Linked DNA regions of Homo sapiens: regions 1 and 2 are each linked to region 3. The links are contacts of gene promoters, found by promoter capture Hi-C in blood cells and fetal thymus (Javierre and others, 2016). All regions are on one chromosome and are shown on one strand. The core of a region is centred on a gene start or on the middle of the fragment in contact, and the rest is flanking DNA. Distances in the headings are between cores, read along the strand shown.

The links. The method cuts DNA at HindIII sites, captures the fragments that hold promoters and counts their contacts. A CHiCAGO score of 5 or more calls a contact.
Region 1: a contact is called between a fragment that was not itself captured here and the fragment with the promoter of SLC47A1 in region 3, in 15 of 17 cell types (megakaryocytes, total B cells, endothelial precursors and 12 more). The highest score is 11.6, in megakaryocytes.
Region 2: a fragment that was not itself captured here is called in contact with the fragment with the promoter of SLC47A1 in region 3 in 8 of 17 cell types (total CD4 T cells, naive CD8 T cells, activated CD4 T cells and 5 more); the score reaches 6.0 in total CD4 T cells.

Annotation. Positions count from the first base shown.
Region 1 is chr17:19,725,672-19,729,441 of GRCh38, forward strand. No RefSeq gene overlaps it. Among named protein-coding and RNA genes, the nearest start is that of SLC47A2, 11 kb to the left of the region's middle. The HindIII fragment of the contact is 593 bases long and covers 2,079-2,671 here.
Region 2 is chr17:19,785,999-19,789,743 of GRCh38, forward strand. ULK2 (unc-51 like autophagy activating kinase 2) reads right to left here. Exons shown (of 27, transcript NM_014683.4): 21 at 1-88. Among named protein-coding and RNA genes, the nearest start is that of ALDH3A1, 40 kb to the left of the region's middle. The HindIII fragment of the contact is 8,374 bases long and covers 1-3,745 here.
Region 3 is chr17:19,531,851-19,535,444 of GRCh38, forward strand. It overlaps SLC47A1 (solute carrier family 47 member 1), which reads left to right and starts at 2,004. Exons shown (of 17, transcript NM_018242.3): 1 at 2,004-2,224. The coding sequence starts at 2,090. The HindIII fragment of the contact is 8,699 bases long and covers 1-3,097 here.

The sequences.
Region 1 (3,770 bases), core at 1,125-3,624, 190 kb after region 3:
AAAATGCGGTACATGCATATGACGGAATACTACTCAACCATAAAAAGGAAGGAAATTCTGACAGATGCCACATATAACATGGATGAACTTTGAGGACATTTTGCTGAATGAAATAAGCCAGACACAAAGGGACAAACACTGTGTGATTCCACTTACCTGAGGGACTTAGAGTCGTCAAATTCCAAGAGACAGAAAGTAGAATGGTGGTTGTCAGGGGCTGGAGAGAAGGTGGGAGTTGTTTAAAGTGTAAATTGTTTCAGTTTTGCAAGATGAAAAGAGTTCTGCAGACTGCTTGCACAGCAATGTGAAGGTATTTAACTATTGAACTGTACACTTAAATCGGGTAAGATGGTAATTTTTTTTTTTTTTTGAGATGGAGTCTGTCTCTGTCGCCCAGGCTGGAGTGCAATGGCGTGATCTCTGCTCACTACAACCTCCACCTCCTGGATTCAATCGATCCTCCTGCCTCAGCCTCCCAAGTAGCTGGGATTACAGGCGTGCACCACCACACCCAGCTAATTTTGGTATTTTTAATAGAGACAGGGTTTCACCATGTTGGCCAGGCTGGTCTCGAACTCCTGACCTCAAATGATCCATCCACCCGCCCCGGGCCTCCCAAAGTGCTGGGATAATAGGTGTGAGCTACCTCACCCAGCCAAGATGGTAAATTTTATGTTGTGTGTATTTTATCACGATTAAAATACAAATAAAAACAAACCTGACATACAGTATTGGTACAAGAAGGAGATAGGCTAACATAGATGTAAGTGTCTGGAACCTAGTAGACATTTATCCAATGTTATGGTCCTTTTTTCTTTCATGCTAAAATTCTGGGTCCTTGGCTCCTGATGTCTTAAAGACATAGACTAGATGAAACTCATTTGTAAGTAGCCCAGACATTACTTATATATCAATGAACACTGTAAAAGTTCTCAGGTTTCTTTTCTTAAGTAGGTTAAATAATCTGCATAACACATTTTGTTACATAACAAATATTTTTGAAGAAGGAGTAAGAGGAGGAGAACGAGGAGGAGGGGGGGGAGAAGGAGAAGATGACTCCTTTGGCTTGGAAAGAAAACTTTGGCTTGGCGTTTAGCATTTTCATTTCTACAAATTCCCCACAGAATACGTCTGAATGGTGTGTAGGAGTGTATGTGATGATGTAATGATATATGTAGGAATCGGAGCCTCCATTATGTGCTAATTGTGCAGCACGAGACACATCTCATTTAATCTCATTTAATGCCAACCTTTTCAGGCAGATATACTTATTCCCATTTTACAAATGACAGGATTGAAGCTCAGAGAAAGAAAGTACTTGCCCAAGGTCACACTGCTAGAAAGTGGCAGACTCAGAATATGAGGCTGAGTCTGTCTCCTATCCAAGTGCACATCCTTTCTACTTCATCTGGGATGACAGATAGCTTTTCTCCAGCCTGCCAGTTCTACTCTGTTGTACTGCATTGCTATATTGTGAATTCAGCGGATTCAGCAAAGCAAACAAGAGTGCGGTGATCAACTTGTAATGTCTGCCATGGACACTGGATAGAGGAGTAACAGTATGTGTGCTTATGGAAAAACCTCTCCAACTTACATCATAGTGAGCACAGGTTTAGGAGCAGAACTAGAAAGAAAATATTTTTTTCTGTCTGTCTAGCAACTGTTGGCCTGAAAAAGAACTCAGTGTCAGAATGGTCAGGAAGGCCCAGCCTTCCTACTGTCAGGGTGTCTAGCCGGGGCTAGGTCTCTCTGTCCTCACCCCTTTGCCTTCCCAAGGTAGGGAAGGTGTAGAAAATCCAGTTGGGAATTTCTGGTAGAAACTTCTACTCCTGGTGCCAATTTCTACCAGTCAGCTACCCTGTAAACTTCTATCAGGCATACAAGCCTTGGGAAACAGAGAGCTGTTGTCTTGCTCAAGCACAAGTTACCAGCAACAAACATTTGTTTCCCAGCAGATCACATGAGGACTTGTGAGATCATGTCTGGCCCTGGCTCAAATAGAAGATGTTCCATTAAAGCAGTTCCCGGGGACCAGGCCTAGGCAACTTTCCTAGGATGGGCAAGGCAGTTGTTCGGGAAGCTTGGCACCTGCACAGCCCCATTGTCATGTGAGGAAACGAAGGGTGTGAGCTTTCCCCCACCTGTCCACTTAGAAGCGTGGGTCAAAGCAGAGAAGAGGGGATATCTCCTTCCCATCTGCCCTTGTCCTCCCACCCCACCCAGGCTGAGGTGCCTCCTACTCCTCCTGCTCTGCTAAGAGGCTGAGATCTGTCTGAGCTGTTGGCAGAACCCTAGAAAGTGCTCCCAGGTCATCCCAGGCCTCCCAGAGGCAGGGTCTGGCAGGGTGGAGAGCTGCCATCATGGCAGAGAACTGCAGCATCAGGCAGGGAAACCAAGGCAGGGCCCAATGGGTGTGGGTGAAAGCTGCACATCCAGAAGTACACGGCTTCCCCCAGGCACCGCAGATCCTGGCCCTGAACGACAAGAGTGCCTGACCTCACGATTGCCAGCAGCTGCCTGTCCTGCAAGGCCTGGCCCTGTGCCAGGGCAGCTGCTTTGCGTGTGGCTGCCTCTCCTGCCCAAACAATTTCTGTTGCCTTTAGGAATGAAGGAGCTCAGGCCAAGCCCAGTTGGTGTTTTCAAAATTTCCTGTAAACAAAGGAAAAGATGAAGCTTATATAACACCCTTGGCTGGAGAATCAGCGGCTGCTTGGCATAGCTGAGAGAGAGGCCTGGGCGCAGACAGTGGTGTGTCCAGGCAGGCAGGGGCCTGGGTCATCCCTCTCAGGACTATTCTTTCTGAACCTTCTGCAAACTCTCCAGTGACCTCTGGGGCCCATTTCAGAGGTCTGAGCAGCTCAGGCTTGGAGAACCACAGAGCTAGAAGGAAAAAGTATTGGAAATAATAAGAACTAATATTCATTAGCCCCCGATTAGGCGCAAGTGCTTTACCTGCACAATCTCATTTAATCCACACCAACCCTAGGAGGCAAACACTGAGGTAACCAATTAGTAGCTGAAAGATAGGCCCGGGGGTGGGCCAGCCACCCACGTTCACATGGTTGGGTATGATCGATCACTTGGCCCTCAGCTTCCCTTCCACCTCCTGCTCACAGCTCTCTATGCAGCAGCAGCTAAAACCCACATTTCCCAGACTCCCCTGGGGCAGGGTTCCAGGGAAGAATGAAGTTCTGCACTTCAGATGCACTTGTGTGAGAGTTGGCTGCTTCGGGCCAGGCGCGGTGGCTCACGCCTGTAATCCCAGCACTTTGGGAGGCCGAGAAGGGTAGATCACAAGGTCAGGAGTTTGAGACCAACCTGACCAACATGCTGAAACCCTGTCTCTACTAAAAAAAAAAAAAAATTAATTAGCCGGGCGTGGTGGCAGGCGCCTGTAATCCCAGCTACTGGGGAGGCTGAGGCAGGAGAATCACTCGAACCCAGGAGGCGGAGGTTGTGGTGAGCTGAGATCAAGCCACTGCACTCCAGCCTGGGTGACAGAGGGAGACTCTGTCTCAAAAAAAAGAAAAAAAAAAAAAGAGTTGGCTGCTTTGGTTGCTGGGTTTCCTGCACTAGTGATCTCTTATCCAGCAGCCGCTTCTGTGAGTGTCAAGAAGCAGTTACAGTGGTGATGGCAGTGCCAGCTTCCCAGTCCCAGCTTCCCTTGGATTGAGCCCATGACAGGAAGGTTTTGTTTGTTTGAGATGGAGTTTTGCTCTTGTTGCCCAGGCTGGAGTGCAATGGCAAGATCTCGGCTCATTGCAACCTCC
Region 2 (3,745 bases), core at 447-2,946, 250 kb after region 3:
GGAGACCCTACAGTGAAGAGGACAGCCTTGGAACTTGCTGCTGTACCTGCAGGAGGTGCCAGAACACCACCACAGGCTCCTGCCGGAGCTACAACAAAAAGTTTATAGAAGGTCATATTACCCTGATAGTGTTTATATCTGGGAGATGGGATTGCAGGGGGATACTGACTTTTATATCAGGAGTCTAGTGGTTTTTTTTTTTTCCCTCTTCTTACAAAAAGTACTTATTGCTCTTAAAATCAGAAAACGTAATACAATATTTTCATTAAAATAACTTATAGTAATCTCAAGTGTGAATCTTCTTCACACCAAAATTTAGCATTCAGAGTTATGTTTGTATACTTCTAAAATACATGAACTGTAAGTTATACATGTTGAAGACAGTACTAAAAAAATGAACGCCAAGAACTGGGAATAAAAACAGGTTAAACTAGGGTAGGTGTGGTGGCTCATGCCTGTAATCCCAGCACTTTGGGAGGCCAAGGCGGGTGGATCACCTGAGGTCAGGAGTTCGAGACCAGCCTGGCCAACGTGGTGAAACCCTGTTTCTACTAAAAATACAAAACTTTGCCGGGCATGGTGATGCGTGCCTGTAATCCCAGCTACTCAAGAGCCTGAGTCAGGAGAATCTCTTGAACCCAGGAGGCAGAGGTTGCAGTGAGCTGAGATCATGCCACTGCACTCCAGCCTGGGTGACAGAGTGAGGCTCCGTCTCAAAAAAAAAAAAAAAAGAAAGAAAAGAAATCAAAATAAAGACATTCCCAAATAAACAGAAGCTGAGAGAATTTACTGCCAGCAGACCTGTCTTACAAGAAATACAAAGGATAGCTCTTCAGACCAAAAGTAACTAACTCCAAATAGTAATCCCAATCTGTAAAGATAATTACAAAACACAAACTGTATATTTCTTCTGTTAACTGATTTTAAAAAGCAACTGTATAAAACATGTATACAGTTGCACTGTCAGGTCTATAGCATATAGAAATGTAATGTTCATTTATTTACTTTTTTTTTTTTTGGAGACGGAATCTCACTCTGTCGCCAGGCTGGAGTGCATTGGCACGATCTCAGCTCACTGCAACCTCTGCCTCCTGATTCTCCTGCCTCAGCCTCTCGAGTAGCTGGGATTACAGGTGCGTGCCACCACGCCCAGCTAATTTTTGTATTTTTAGTAGAGACAGGGTTTCATCATGTTGGCCAGGATGGTCTCGATCTCTTGACCTTGTGATCCGCCCGCCTTGGCCTCTCAAACTGCTGGGATTACAGGCGTGAGCCACTGCGCCCAGCCTTAGTTTTTATTTTTTTAGAGACAGGGTCTCCACCTGTCACCCAGGCTGAAGGGCACTGGTGTGACCATAGCTCACTGCAGCCTGGAACTCCTGAGCTCAAGTGATCCTCCTGCCTCGGCCTTCCACAGTGTTGGGATTACAGGCGTGAGCCACTGCACCCAGCCAGAAATATATTTGATAATAAGAACATAAAGGAGTCAGATGGGAGTAAAACTATATTAGAGTAAGGAAGTGACACCAGATGGTAACTCAAATCCACAAAAACACACCAAGATAACCAGAAATGATAAGTAAGAAAGTTAATATAACAAACTATAAATACATACTTGCTTTCTTATCTCAGCTTCTTTTCAAAGACATAAAATTACAAACCAGAGTAAGATGGCAAAATAGAAGGCTCCACCAATTGTACAACCCACCTCCCAAAAATTTGCACACAATAAAGCACCTTCATAAGAACCAAAAATCAGGTGAGTAATCACAGTACCTGGTTTTAACTTCATATCACTGAAAGAGGCACTGAAGAGGGTAGGAAAGGCAGTCTTGAATCACCAGCACCACCCTCCGCCCCTCCCCTGGCAGCAGCTGTGTGTGGCAAGGAAATAATCTGTGTACTTGGGGGAGGGAGAGTGCAGCAATTTGGGGATTGCACATTGAACTCAGTGCTGTCCTGTCACAGTGCAAAGGAAAACCATGCTGAACTCAGCTGGTGTCCGCCCACGGAGGGAGCATTTGGACCAGCTGTAGCTAGAGGGAAAGTGCCTGTCTGAGTGGCCAGAATGTGAGTTTCTGCAAGCCTCACCACCACAAGCTAAAGCGCTCCGGGTCCAAGTGAACTTGAAAGGCAGTCTAGGACACAAGGACTGCAATTCCTAGCCAAATCCTGGTGCCGTGCTGGGCTTAAAGCCAGTGGATTGGGGCATGACTTAGAGAGACATCAGACAGGGCTTCTAAGGGAGTGTTTGTGCCACTCCTCCTCCCAAACCCAGGCAGCGCAGCTCACAGCAACAAAAGTGACTCCTTCCTTCTGCTTGAGGACAAGAGATAAAGGTAAAAAGGGCTTTCTCTTATGTCTTGGATACTAGGCTCAGCCACAGTAGGACGAGCCCCGGGCAGAGTCGTGAGACCCCCATCCCAGGCCCTAGTTCCTGTTGACATTTCTAAACACACCCTGAGCCAGAAGTGAACTCACTGGCCTTGAAAAAAAAGACCCAGTCCTGGCAGGATTCATCACCTGCTGACTGAAGAGTCCTCGGGCCCTGAATAACCAATAATACTACCCAGGGAGCATGCTTGGGCCTTGGGTGAGACTCTGAGACATGCTGGCTTCAGGTAGCAGCTTGATTACAGTGGGATAGAGCACCAAGCAGGCTCTTGGGGTTCCCAAGTCTAGGCCTAGGCTCTTGGACATTTCTGGACCTGCCCTGAAGGGTGGGTCTTAGGCCTAGCAGCACTCAGCACATGCTGACTGAAGAGCCCTTGGGCCTTAAGTTAACATCAGTGGTGGCCTGGCAGAACTCCTTGTGGGCCATTGGTGGTTACAGCCACAGGGATAGGTTCCTCTGCCTGTGGAAGGGGCAGGAAAGACCGGGAAGGACTTTGTCTTGCGGTTTGAGTGGCAGCTTAGCTGCAGTAGGATACAATACCAGGTAGATTTCTAAGGTTTTTTATTCCAACCCCTGACTCCTAGATAGCATCTCTGGACATGCCTGGTGCCTGGGGTACTTGTTGCCCTGAAAGGAAGGACACAAACCTGGCTGGTTTCACCACCTGCTGATTGTAAGTCCTGGGGCTTGAGCGAACATAGGTAGTAGCCAAGCAATGATTAAAGAGGGCCTTGGGCAAGACCCAGGGCTGTGCTGGCTTCAGGTCTAACCCAGGCAGTTCCAGTGGTGGTGGCCACAGGGGTGTTTGCATCACCCCACCCCCACCTCCAAGTAGCTCAGCATAGAAAGAGAGACACGCCATTAGTTGTTCACCTTTTGATAAAAAGTTAGGGAAGAGAACAAAAGTCTCTAGCTGGTAATCCATAGAATTCTTCTGGATCTTATCCAAGTCAATGAGTCTGCAAGAACTACAGCATTATTGGGCTTGGAGCCCAAGTCCCGTCAAATACCTGGAAAGTCTCCCCAAGAAGGACGGGTACAGATTGCAAAGCCCAGGCTGTGAAGACAACAATAAATACCTAACATGTCAATGCCCAGACACGGACAAAAATCTACATCAAGACCAGCCAGGAAAACATGAACTTACCAAGTGAACTAAATAAGGCACCAGGGACCAATCATGGAGAAACAGATACATAACCTTTCAGACAGAGAATTCAAAATAGCTGTTTTGAGGAAACTCAAGGAAATTCAAGATAATATAGAGAAGAAATTCAGAATTCTATCAGATAAATCTAACACAGACTGAAATAATTAAAAGAATCAAGTAAAAATTCCAGAGGTGAAAAA
Region 3 (3,594 bases), core at 754-3,253:
TTTATCAATTCTATTAGCTTTTGTTCATATTTTATTTCTTTGGGTTGTGTGGATTTTTTTTAAGAGATGGGGTCTCACTGTGTTGCCCAGGCTGGTCTCAAAACTCCTGGGTTCCAGTGATCCTCCCACCTCGGCCTTCCAAAGTGTTGGGATTATAGGCATGAGCCACTGTGCCTGGCCCGGTCTGTCAATTTCTACTGTGAGTAATCCCTTTGCCTTTTCTTTCCTAACATTATACATTACATTTCCATTTCCTGTCTTATTACATCAGTCAGGACTTCCAGAAAATTATCAAAAAACAGCAGTGATCAGAGATCTAGTGAATATCCTCGGGTATTTGTCTGTTGACACTCTCAGTTCTTTTGGGAAACTGCGCTACTCCATATGTACAGTCCTTGTGGGACGAGACCAGTCACAGGGCACCTAACCCTAACCCTGTAGGTTCAAAGCTGGGTGCATGGTCCAGGGCCAGCCAAACATCAGACCCTATTTTCCCACCCAGGGCGATTGTTCCAGAGGTGGGCAAGAAACCTAAGCAGGGCCAACCAGATTTTCTCCCAGTTTTTTGTTTGTTAGTTTGGAACCAGAAGAGAGGAGGGGAGGGCCTTACTTTCTGGTTTAACAGACGGGAAAGATAGGAACGAGGGTATCAGAGGCCACCACTGTCACTTGCACAGGAAGAGAAAGGCTGCCGGCAGAGGAGGAAGAGAAACTACGGAAAGAATCCCAAGGGGCGAGGAGAAGGGAGGAGAGGGACAGAGATGGGAAGAGGGACAACAAGAATGATCTGGTTTTGTTTTTTTTTTTTTTTTGAGTGGAGTCTCCCTCTGCCACCAGGCTGGAGTGCAGTGGCGAGATCTCGGCTCACTGCAACCTCTGCCTCCCGGGTTCAAGCAATTCTCCTGCCTCAGCCTCCCTAGTAGCTGGGATTATGGCGCGCGCCACCATGCACAGCTAATTTTCGGTACAGACGGTGTTTCACCATGTTGGCCAGGATGGTCTCGATCTCTTGACCTTGTGATCCGCCCGCCTAGGCCTCCCAAAGTGCTGGGATTACAGGCGTGAGCCACCGCGCCTGGCCTAATGACCTTGTTTTCAAATCCCTGAATCCAAACTTCCTGATTATGTGAGCCAAAAAATTTGTTTTCCATTTTCTCTACTTACATTGGATCATTACAACGGAAGGAATTTTGACTATTAGAGAAATCAATCTTGTCCTGGTAACTGACACTTATTAGGTAACGGCTGGTGCCAGGCTGAGGGCAGGTGGCACTGACTCCGGTCCTCCGCCCAGGCAACCCCAGTCTTCACAGCTGGCGACGAGTGTTCTTTCACGTTTGCAGATGAGGAAGCTGAGGCTCTGGGAGGAAAGCGCGCTGCTCCTGCCCTTCTGGGCCGCAGCCTCTCGTACTCCCACAGCAGGCTTGATGGATAAACTTCCAACACGACCAGCTGGCACAAACTGTGCTACTTGGCAAATGGGAGCATGTTGCTCTATCCTGGTAGATTCTAAGTTCTCTAATGGAACAACTGATGAGAGGAGAGGAGTATGCAACACCCTAACCAGCATCAAAGGGTGTACCCAACTCAATCTGCACAGCAAATGCGCCCAACCCCACACACCCCGCGGGGTGCTAACCGAGTCACGGCTCGAGGCCTCTGGGTCCTTCCACGCCAGGTCATTCAGAACCTGAAACCCCCAGCGGAGGTGGAGAGCCGGGGTGAGTCCTGGCGTCCGAGACGTGGAGGACCCAGCCCCCGGAGCGCGTTCCGTTAGTTTACAGAGCTTTTTCAAACTTTGCCTTCCAAGTGCAGGAGTTCCTTGGTCTTTGCAAGACCCGCAGGCGTCCGCAGTGGTGCAGAGAGAGGTGCAAGGGGCGCGCCCAAGGTCGCAGGCTGCCTGGCTGCGCGCTCAGTCGGGCCCCCGGGCGCCAGGCGCGGGGCGGGCTCTGGGCGGGCGGCCGGGGCGGGGACTGCAGAGCAGGCTGCACTGCGCGGTACCCACTGCCGGCCTGCGCGGTACTCACTGCCGGCCTCCGCGGTACCCACTGCCGGCCTCCGCGCTACCCGGCCGCAGCGCGCGAGTCACATGGAAGCTCCTGAGGAGCCCGCGCCAGTGCGCGGAGGCCCGGAGGCCACCCTTGAGGTCCGTGGGTCGCGCTGCTTGCGGCTGTCCGCCTTCCGAGAAGAGCTGCGGGCGCTCTTGGTCCTGGCTGGCCCCGCGGTGAGTAAGGTGGCCTCAGTGGCAGGCCGGTACCGGCGGGCTGGGGACCTGGTGATTTCTGCCTCCGCGGGTGACTTTGGCGGGCTTTGGGGACCGAGCGAGCTGTCCGCCGGCGGGCTCCGGGGAGCATCGTGCCAGGAGCCGGGCGGGCACCCCAGCTCCTCTGCCTGCGTCCCGGCCGCTTTCCGCTCCGCACCACCCGACTGGGGGCCCCGCGGGGCACTGCGGGAACGGCTGGTACGCGCCCGGGCGCATGTTGGCTCGGAGAGGCCGGCGGCTCCAGCCTCCTGCGCCAGGAGACACCGGAGAGCTGGGACCTTTGCCCCTAACGGGGCTCTACCAGGTCCAGGCTGCATTTGCATCCGGGGGTGCCTTCTCTGGGAGCTGATTCCGGCCAATAAAACGCAAGTTGCCTGAACTTCAAAACACAAGGGAACTTGTTTCTTTGAAAAGTAGCGGTCAAAAGTTCGGGAGCTCTGCGATCTAAATAATCCCGAGGCACGGAGGAGGGGGTGCGTGGTCTGTCGTGGACTCAGAGCTGCGAAATGATTTCTTCAGAATTCAGTCAACCTCTACCGAGGAAACCAGAGGCATCCTGTACCACCCCCTCCCCGCCAGTAATTATGTATGTGAAAGAAAAAAGGGGTTTTAATGTGGTTCTTTGTGGGGTCGAGGTGTTCTTATCTGTGGGATTCTTTTCTTTTTAATCATTAGGTTAGGGCTGTTTCTGCCTTGTCTCCTAAAAATAATGTGGTTTTAAAAACCACAAAAACACAATCCTATCCACGTTCTCCTGCCAGCTTGGGTGGTTTTCAAACCGAGAGGGTAGGACGCGGCACAAGAAGCAACTGGTATGCACTTAAGGCGTGAATAAGCTTTTGACTTTGAGGCCCACATTCTGCACCTGCGCGGGCTGAGGGGGGCCGCTGTGCCTCTGGAGTGGGGGCTCGGTAGTTTGTGGGATATTGTGGCACCCGCTGTGGTGTGCAGGACAGCAAGGGTAATGCCGAGGTCAAAGCCATGGAATAAGATCCATCAGCCATGCTTTCTCACAGACCAGAAAGAACTCATGATTTGGGGCTGGGCGCGGTGGTTCACGCCTGTAATCCCAGCACTTTGGGAGGCTGAGGCAGATGGATCACTTGAGGTCAGGAGTTCGAGACCAGCCTGGCCAATATGGTGAAACTCCGTCTCTACTAAAAATACAAAAATTAGCCAGACGTGGTGGCGGGCGCCTGTAGTGCCAGCTACTCCAGAGGCTGAGGCACGAGAATCGCTTGAACCTGGGAAGTGGAGGTTACAGTGAGCCAGGATGGTGCCACTGCACTCCAGCCTGAACAACAGAGTAAGACTTGGTCTCAAAAAACAAA